3 separate regions of the Homo sapiens genome follow, and all the other regions are linked to region 2. Evidence: promoter capture Hi-C in 16 types of primary human blood cells and fetal thymus (Javierre and others, 2016). All regions are on one chromosome and are shown on one strand. The core of a region is centred on a gene start or on the middle of the fragment in contact, and the rest is flanking DNA. Distances in the headings are between cores, read along the strand shown. Region 1 overlaps CTNNB1 (catenin beta 1). Region 2 holds the start of ZNF621 (zinc finger protein 621). Region 3 has its middle 42 kb from the start of CTNNB1.

Evidence for each region. Contacts are between HindIII fragments. The CHiCAGO score rates a contact against its expected background, and 5 or more counts as called.
Region 1: a contact is called between a fragment that was not itself captured here and the fragment with the promoter of ZNF621 in region 2, in 2 of 17 cell types (naive B cells and total B cells). The highest score is 5.7, in naive B cells.
Region 3: a fragment that was not itself captured here is called in contact with the fragment with the promoter of ZNF621 in region 2 in 1 of 17 cell types (total B cells); the score reaches 9.1 in total B cells.

What each region holds. Positions count from the first base shown.
Region 1 is chr3:41,220,066-41,222,765 of GRCh38, forward strand. All of the region lies in intron 1 of CTNNB1 (catenin beta 1), which reads left to right. Among named protein-coding and RNA genes, the nearest start is that of CTNNB1, 22 kb to the left of the region's middle. The HindIII fragment of the contact is 8,015 bases long and covers 1-2,700 here.
Region 2 is chr3:40,523,658-40,526,357 of GRCh38, forward strand. It overlaps ZNF621 (zinc finger protein 621), which reads left to right and starts at 1,303. Exons shown (of 5, transcript NM_198484.5): 1 at 1,303-1,617; 2 at 2,122-2,207. The coding sequence starts at 2,184. RefSeq lists enhancers at 905-994, 1,273-2,085, 1,645-1,784 and a silencer at 1,185-1,344. The HindIII fragment of the contact is 8,303 bases long and covers 304-2,700 here.
Region 3 is chr3:41,240,489-41,243,188 of GRCh38, forward strand. No RefSeq gene overlaps it. Among named protein-coding and RNA genes, the nearest start is that of CTNNB1, 42 kb to the left of the region's middle. The HindIII fragment of the contact is 1,510 bases long and covers 522-2,031 here.

The DNA of each region.
Region 1 (2,700 bases), core at 61-2,560, 700 kb after region 2:
GGAGATGATAAATAAAAATATTAATTTATTTGAGGCATATATTTATGGCTGAGGAAGGAAGACAGTTATGAAGAACAGCTCATTCTGGAAACATACTAATTTTTCCCAGCCATAAAGAGATTTCCTATTTCTTTTTTTTTTCCATTTACCTTCTGTTTCCTACCTGAGAAGATTTCATACTTCTAATAACCATTTGTGTACCTATTTAAAGACAGTACCAAAGGCATACATTTTAGTGTTTGGAGGACCAAGGGTCATTTGATGTTTGATGCTTATTGACTATTCGAGGATGACAAGACACCTTGAGAACACACACACCCACACCCACACCCACACCCTCACCCACCCACCCCACCCCCCTCCCCGAAGAAAGCTGTGAAGGAAGAAAGCAGAAAAGAACCTGGAGTGAGTTGTAACTTAAAATGTTAGTGTTGCATGAAGTGTGTTAAAACAGGAAGATTTGAGGAAATTGCATACATTTTCTAGATGGCAAAGTATTACTGGTGACAGTTAATGAAAATGCATATGCATGTGTTTTTAGATTTACAAATTTTACTAAGAACTTTTTAAAAATCCCTGAAGGTGTATCAAAAGTTTATCATGCTTATGAAATAGAGTAGCACTTTCTAACTTTAAAACGGGGAATAATTCTTTGGATCTTGATTATTGGAAAAGTGAATTATGAATTGCTAGTATAAAACTGTGGTTTTAAAATATGTCTGCTTTATATTTTTATGTAGCAGATTTACTCCTAGTTAATAATACTCAAACTTACTGAAAACTAAGGTAATTAAGATAATTCTGTCCTGATGGGAAGAGGAAAAATAACTTCAGTGTGAAATCTATTATATATTAGTTGTGGCAAGATTTCTCCCATTGACTTTGACTGGAGACATTTATAGGGTTAAAATCGGAAATAGCACGGTGAATTTTGAAGTATCCTTGTAGTTGGAAAGAGTATTATGTTCATATTGCCAAAAAAAAGATGCATGGATGCATTAGACTGGATGGAAAATACATGAGAAGTTGGCTAGCCCCCTCTTTGTCAAAACATCACTTGGTGGTGATAAAGCTGTTGGAAAACACAGCATTCTAATGTAGTCTGTAGTTTAATGATAATCTGTGTCTTGAAACATTTAGCGTAGTACTTATACAAACCTAGATGGCATAGTGTACTGCATGCCTAGCCTATATAGTATAGCCTGTTGCTTCTAGGGTGTAAAGCTGTATAGCGTGTTACTATAGGCAGTTGAAACAGTGGTATTTATGTATCCTTTTTTTTTTTTTTAAATTCTTTTAAGAGACAGGGTCTTGCTCTGTTGCCCAGGCTGGATGCATTGGTGTGATCATAGCTCACTATAACCTTGAACTCCTAAGTGATCCTCTTTGCCTCAGCCTCCCCAGTGGCTAGGACTACAGGCACATACTACCACACCTGGCTAATTTTTAACATTTTTTTGTAGAGATGGAATTTCGCTGTGTTGTCCAGGCTGGTCTTGGAACTCTTGTGCTGCAGCAATCCACCCGCCTCCCAAAGTGTTAGAATTACAAGCCACTTCGCCTGGCTTGTTTACCTAAACATAGAAAAGATCCAGTAAAAATACAGAATTAAAATCTTGTGGGGCCACTGTAGCATATGTAGTCCATCTTGACTGAAATGTCCTTATGCAGTGCATGATTGTACTTCATAATTTTTAAGCACTCCTCCCTCTTGATTGGTACTTAGTGGATTTTATCATTTTTGTTTCTTCATAATTCTTTCTGAAATGTCTACTGGTTGGACCTTTGATCTCCTGAATTGATCGTGATTTCTTCTGTTGTATTTTTTGTCTTTGTCATTTTTTTGTACTCTAGGCAGTTTTCTCAATTTTAGTTTCTATTCAACTTTTTGTTTTTATTTATTCTCTCCAGTATTTATGGAGATACTAAATTGAAGTGTTCTGTTTCTCTCTCCACCCTATCCCTAGTTTCAAGTTTTATCTCAGTTTCTATGGAGTCAGTTTTTTCGTTGCTTTAAAAAAAAATTTTCCTGAAGTGATTGGTAAGTTTTGGCTAATTGGGAGCACTAGAATTGGGCCCTTAATGGTTGGCAGGGTGTGGTGGAGGAGAGACAGCCCTTAGTCCAAAGGCTCAGGCCAGAAAAAGAAAGAGGAAGGCTTTCCTTTTCCTTTCCGGAGCAGGGTTCTGCCCTAGGTCTTGCTTGGCAGTCTATTTGATTTCTTTAGCAGTTAATGCTCAGTTTTTTGGCATATGTGGATCTGCCTCCAGAGCAGGTACAAGGTGAGTGAGTCTATGCTGTTACCTAATTAGATCCCCATTTCTACCCTTTGTTTTTACTTCTCTATCTACTGATAGGTTTTTACCCTCCTTCACCTCATAGGGTTGCAGTGAAGAGCAAGATGAATTTTTATTTATGTTGCATAAATTTTAAAAGCTAAAAAATATATATGTAATGTTGGGAAGTCCCAGTGTACAAATGGCTATTGTAAATTTGGAACATGAACTTGCTTTTTTCCATTGTAAAAATGAAATCATTATAAATTGCGGTCAAGTTACTAGGTCAGCCCACACAGAGTTTACCCAGTAATATGCGTAAATGTTTTGCCTTTGCATCAACAACAAGGAAAAACAGTACTATAAAAAAATGTTCCTGGAAGCCGGATGTATCAAAGCACTTCTGAAATAGCTATATAGCCTATA
Region 2 (2,700 bases), core at 53-2,552:
CGGGAGGCTGAGGAAGGAGAATGGCGTGAACCCAGAAGGCAGAGCTTGCAGTGAGCCGAGATTGCGCCATTGCACTCCAGCCTGGGCGACAGAGCGAGACTCCGTCTCAAAAAAACAAACAAACAAAAAACAAGCAAAAAAAAAAAAAACAAAGTCTGTCCATCTTAGCAACCACTTTGATACTGGAGAAAGGCTCCTGTCCAGAAGGAAGGGCACAGTAGTGAGGTACTTGCCAATGAGCTGGGTAGAGCTGCCACTGGCTGGCTTCGGGAAGTGTTTATCACTGACTGGCTCATGTTCAGAAGCTTGGAGTGAGGCTGTTGTGTACTGGTTGATTTTCAGAGTACGTGTACTGATCTAAAATTATGTAAATTAATGGCAAGTACTTGTTAGTGACTTGGGACTTTGGTCAAAAAACAGTCTTTTCCTTTCCTGAATATGAAAAGTAAGTTCTTTTAATTAGCAGCCTCCCCTCTTCACTGTTTTTTCTTCCTGCAGTCCAACTAACAGAACAGACCATAAAGGTCTGTCCAGATCATTATTTATGGAAGTATGAGATATATATATTTCAGCTGGTGTTAACATTTTATTTAAGTGCCAGTTACTGAGCAGAAAAATAGCTGTAACTACGAGTTTTTGTAATTTATTGGAAAAAGCTAAATATAAGACATTTAGGGTGTCCTCCCAAAGTCAACACAGGACAAGATCATTTAATATAGGACATGTCCTGTGTATACAGGATGCCTAGCAACTGTATGTAGCCACGGGTGTTTTGGTTGTTAAATGAATCTGTCCTAAAAGGTTCTACGCACATCTAGGTCCTTGGAAGGGAGAGGGCTAAAACGGCGAGTGGAAACCATGGTTTCCCTGAGGACTGCCCAGCTGAGGACCCAAGCAAGATCCTGGGCTTGGGCCTCTTAGAGATGACAAAGCAGGCGCCATTCTCCCCTCACCTGCACGGCCCAGGCTTCAGGTGAGCCACGGGGCCAAGGCGGCCAACAGCTGAGGCGCAGCCCGTGAACTGGGGGCCCACTTGTGCCTAGAGGGCGAGGTCTCGGTAGAGCCAGGCTGTATCAGTCCGTGACACTCCAGCCAGAGGCGATGCCGACGGCTGCCGGAGAAAGCCGGGCTTAGAGCGCCACAGTTCCACGCCCGCCGCCGGCCTCTCAGCCCAGCCGGTCGCCGCAACCTCGCCTCTTCCGCAGGGCGGGGCCAGCCATGAAAGGCGGGGCGGGTCTGGCCACGGGGCGACCGAGATGGCGGCCTCCGGGGGCCTAGAGGGACCCTGGGCGTGCACTCGCCCTTCCGGCTCGGCCTTTAGTTAGTGACCAGCTCCTCGGCGTTCTGCAGAGCGTGGGTTTCAGCGAGTTCTACGTGCCAGGTCCGCCCGGTGCCGGCTTCCTCGCTGCCCCTGGCGGCTCGTCAGCCCCCACTACCCCTGAACTTGGTCCCAATGGCGGCCCGCCCCTCCTTCACCCGGACCGTGGGCATCTGGGCCTCGCCGAAGCCGTCAAGGTGGCTGCTCGGGCTTCTAGAGCCCGTGTCCAGCCCTTTGCCACCGAGGCCTGATCCTCTTTTCTGCCCTAAAGAACTTGCCCTGACAGCCTCTGGCTCCCGGTACTGACGTTTCTGATGTTTGGGGTTGCCTGTTTTCTTGGGTGGAGTGTTAAGATCACGGTTGGGTGGGGTCTCCGGTCAGCATCACCCACTGGGACGCTGAGTATTTTACCCTTAATCCGCATTCAGCCACCCCAGTCCCTCTTCTCCTGAGGTTCTTTCTTTTGGGTCCACGTCATCGTCCCTGTAAGCATTCTGTAAAGACTCTTTACGTTTGTAGAGACCCAACACAATAGGGACAGGGCTCTTGGGTCCCTCAGTTTACCCGTACGAATGGGCTCAAAAAAAGCTCTTCGGACTGAGCAGGCAGGTGGAAGATTGTCCTGAAGACTAGGCAGAACAATTCATAAGAAGTTTGGGGCTATCAGCGTGAGAACAATTAGAGGGAGTCCTAGTAGAATCTCCGTGCATCCAGTGCTGGAAATGTGGAAACTGGGAGGGCCATAGGTTGCTGTAGGTGGTGGACGACAGGGTCCTTAGCACTCATGGCTCTTTTTCTCTTAGCTCTTGAGGATCTTGCTTGTCCAAACCCAGAAGACAGTGCATGAAGCCAGGGGACATCCGCCATGCTCCAAACAACTTGGCCTCAGGTGAGCTGAGCTTCTTTCAGTTTTTTTGTTTGTTTGTTTATGTTTTTTTACTCACATTAGCTATCAGATAATCAGGAAAGGATGAGGAAGGCCTAACTTGGCCAAGCTGTGTTTTCCCCTTTGTATCTATCTCCAGGGCTATGGCAGATGTAAATATGTGCTGGGGAAATGAAAGTTTTGTGTATAGAGAGTGATGAGTTTGGATGTATAGATTTAAATGGAAGAAAGGGGACCTATACCAAGAAATTCTTTCTGAATGTGGAAATCCAGATCGTGTTCTAGAAATGAAAGTCACCTACTGAAATCAGACTCATTTTTTGTGAGACGGAGTCTCACTCTGTCGCCCAAGCTGGAGTGTAGTGGCACTATGATATCGGCTCACTGCAGCCTCTGCCTCCTGGGTTCAAGTGATTCCCATACCTCAGCCTCCTAAGTAGCTGGGATTACAGATGTGCGCCGCCACGTGTGGCTAATTTTTGTATTTTTAGTAGAG
Region 3 (2,700 bases), core at 27-2,526, 720 kb after region 2:
GTGAGGGTGGTAAGTAAGTTTATCCAACTCAACTTTATCCTGAACTTTATCCTGAGATAGATAGATACATAGTGAAGTAATTTGTTGTAGCGATAGAGAGGGCCCTACTTCTCTAGATGCAATTTGCCAAGTTTCTTTAGCATTTGGCCCTGGATTACGCTGGACCCCTAAAAAAGTGTTTCAGCCTTGCACATTGTGATTAGTTCTGGGCTTTGGTGGGAGAAAGCCAAGCAGACTATCCATCTATCTATCTCTACCCCAATCCCCCTCAGATGATTTGATTCCATTAAAGTAATGAAATAAATAGTAACTACCCCTACCTGGATTTGGATTTGAATCACCTTCACCCAAGTGTGACTCATTGGGAGAGGGGAATTCCTTCAACTGGACTTTGAACTAATAATAATTAAATAAATTAAATAGGTTTAAGTGTTGATGTTTATCTGAACATAATCAGAACCAGAATGAGCCTTCCACAGTACCTGCCAGATGATCCTATCATCCCGGTGGTAGGTCTGACAAGCTTAGTTCATCTCATCTCTTCAGGTAGACCTGTTTGTTAAGACTTGTGTTTTGGTCTTTTAAAAAGTAAAAGAAAGAAGTGTTTTGTCTTTAGGGAGAGCTCTTTCTGATTTACTGTTTTTATTTTGATGATGATTGATAGTGACTATTAATTATGAGAAAAACATACATTCAGTTCTTTTTCGTTAAAAATCAGCTTCATCTGGGGAGGCCTTTTTGTGAATGCCCTTGCTTTGCAAAAATGAATTCATTGTGGTCTAAAATGTAATTAGGGTTTGAAAAGAAACATTCACATAGCTGATGATGTGGTAGGTCTCAGGTTCTGTCTCATGTGTGATAAACCAAACCAGCCAGTATTTCAAGAAGCCTAGGGCTATTGGTAGGTTAACACCGTGAAGATCTTCAGTGAATTCAGCTTTTAACATAAAGAGCCACCGCACGGTGTTTCAATTACAGAAAGAACAACTTTTTAAAACCAGAGAATGTTTTCAGAGCTTTGCTAATTCATTGTATTTTATTTTTGAAGTTTAAAAACTTAATGTGAGAGTTAATCCAGTTCAACAAGGTGGCTCTGGAAGTACCAAGGGTGAATAATAGCCAAGACGCTTAGGAAAAATAGCACTTGCTCTAGCAGCTGTCAAGGCCTAACTACTTAATACAAAGCTAAAGTTAGTTAACCCTGTTACAGGAATAGGGATATAAATACAGATTAATACAGAATAATACACAGGCATTTAAAGACTCTTCAGAGACAGCGTTGGAGATCCGAGTGGGAGGAGAGCAACTTTTTCATAAAGGTGTGAAACAGCCGTTGGAATAAAACAATACAGAAAAACATCCATGACCCAACAAAATATCAAGATTTTAAATAAAGGCAGTAGTACTGATTTTTCTTTTGCCTCAAGCGCCAGTAAGGCTTGGTAGGGCACAACGCTGACAGTCTACACTGGACGCCCATGTGTCCAACAATCTCTGTTCACACGAGACAGTGCAGTGAAAAACTACAGCTTCAGTGATGTGGGTGTCAGTATAGTATGCATATATCTATCTCACATAACACTGAACAAAAGCAAGTTACAGATGCATGCTTTAGAACTCCATTGATCATCAATTAAAAAAAGGGACAAGCTATTTTAAGGAAAATATCCACAGATGGAGCAAGGAGATGATTAGATGACTATAGAAATCAGAATAATGGTTAACCTGGAGAGGGAGGTGCATGGGATGCTGGCAAGGTACCTAACCTTTCCTGTAAATAGTGGTGAAGAAAGTGAGGTCAAGTTTTCAATAAGAGAAGTAGTGGTGGGGAGGAAAAGGCCTAAAAGGAATGCTGCCCACTTGCATTTCCGGGTACAGGAGGTGAAAATGACAAAATGAACATGGCCGTTGAGAATAGGAGGGCTTTCCAGCCTGAGTGTTCTTTTTTCAGTTGTGCTGTAGTTATGAGACAGCCTTGAGAGTTAAGACATTTGATCCCATTGCAGCAACCACCATTGAACCAAAGAAGGAAGCTTTTCTATGTTGGAGCAGATCTTACAGACATGAGGCTTTGAAATCTGATGATCTGAATCCTTAATAATGAAAGATCTTAAGATAAACACACTCTTTAACTCTTGGTTGCTATAATAAAAAGATGTGAATTGTGCTGTTTTGTTTATAAAGCAAAAATGCTAAGTTGATCTGCAGTTCTATTAAGTGAGAACCTGCCTTTCCTTGCCTTGAGCAGATCACCCACCAAAGTGAAATTATGAAATGATGGGGCTGCAGGGGCTGTCAGGGCAGTTCTTCCTTTTTCTTTTATCGCAGCCTCCTATGTGGAATTCTGTATAATATCCATTCCACCACTTGAGACTCCAGTAAACGTAGAAGGAAGTGACAAGTTTCAGAGTTGAGGTTGTGGGGGAAGGTCAGAACAGGTATAGGGGTATGCAGGAAGGCAAAGGAGAAACCCCATCTCTATGTATTTCCAAAGTAGGTTTTGGCATGAATAGGGAAAGGTCCGTGTGTCCATAAATGTAATTTCCATGTTAGGTACGACTGAGAGCCACTCTGTGACAAAGCAGTTCTACTCAGAATTATTTGAGGTATACTCACGAGTATGTACAAGGAATTCATTGCAACACTGTCAAAGATAGCAACCCAAATAGGTGTCAAAAGGGAACCTAACTAGTTAAGCAA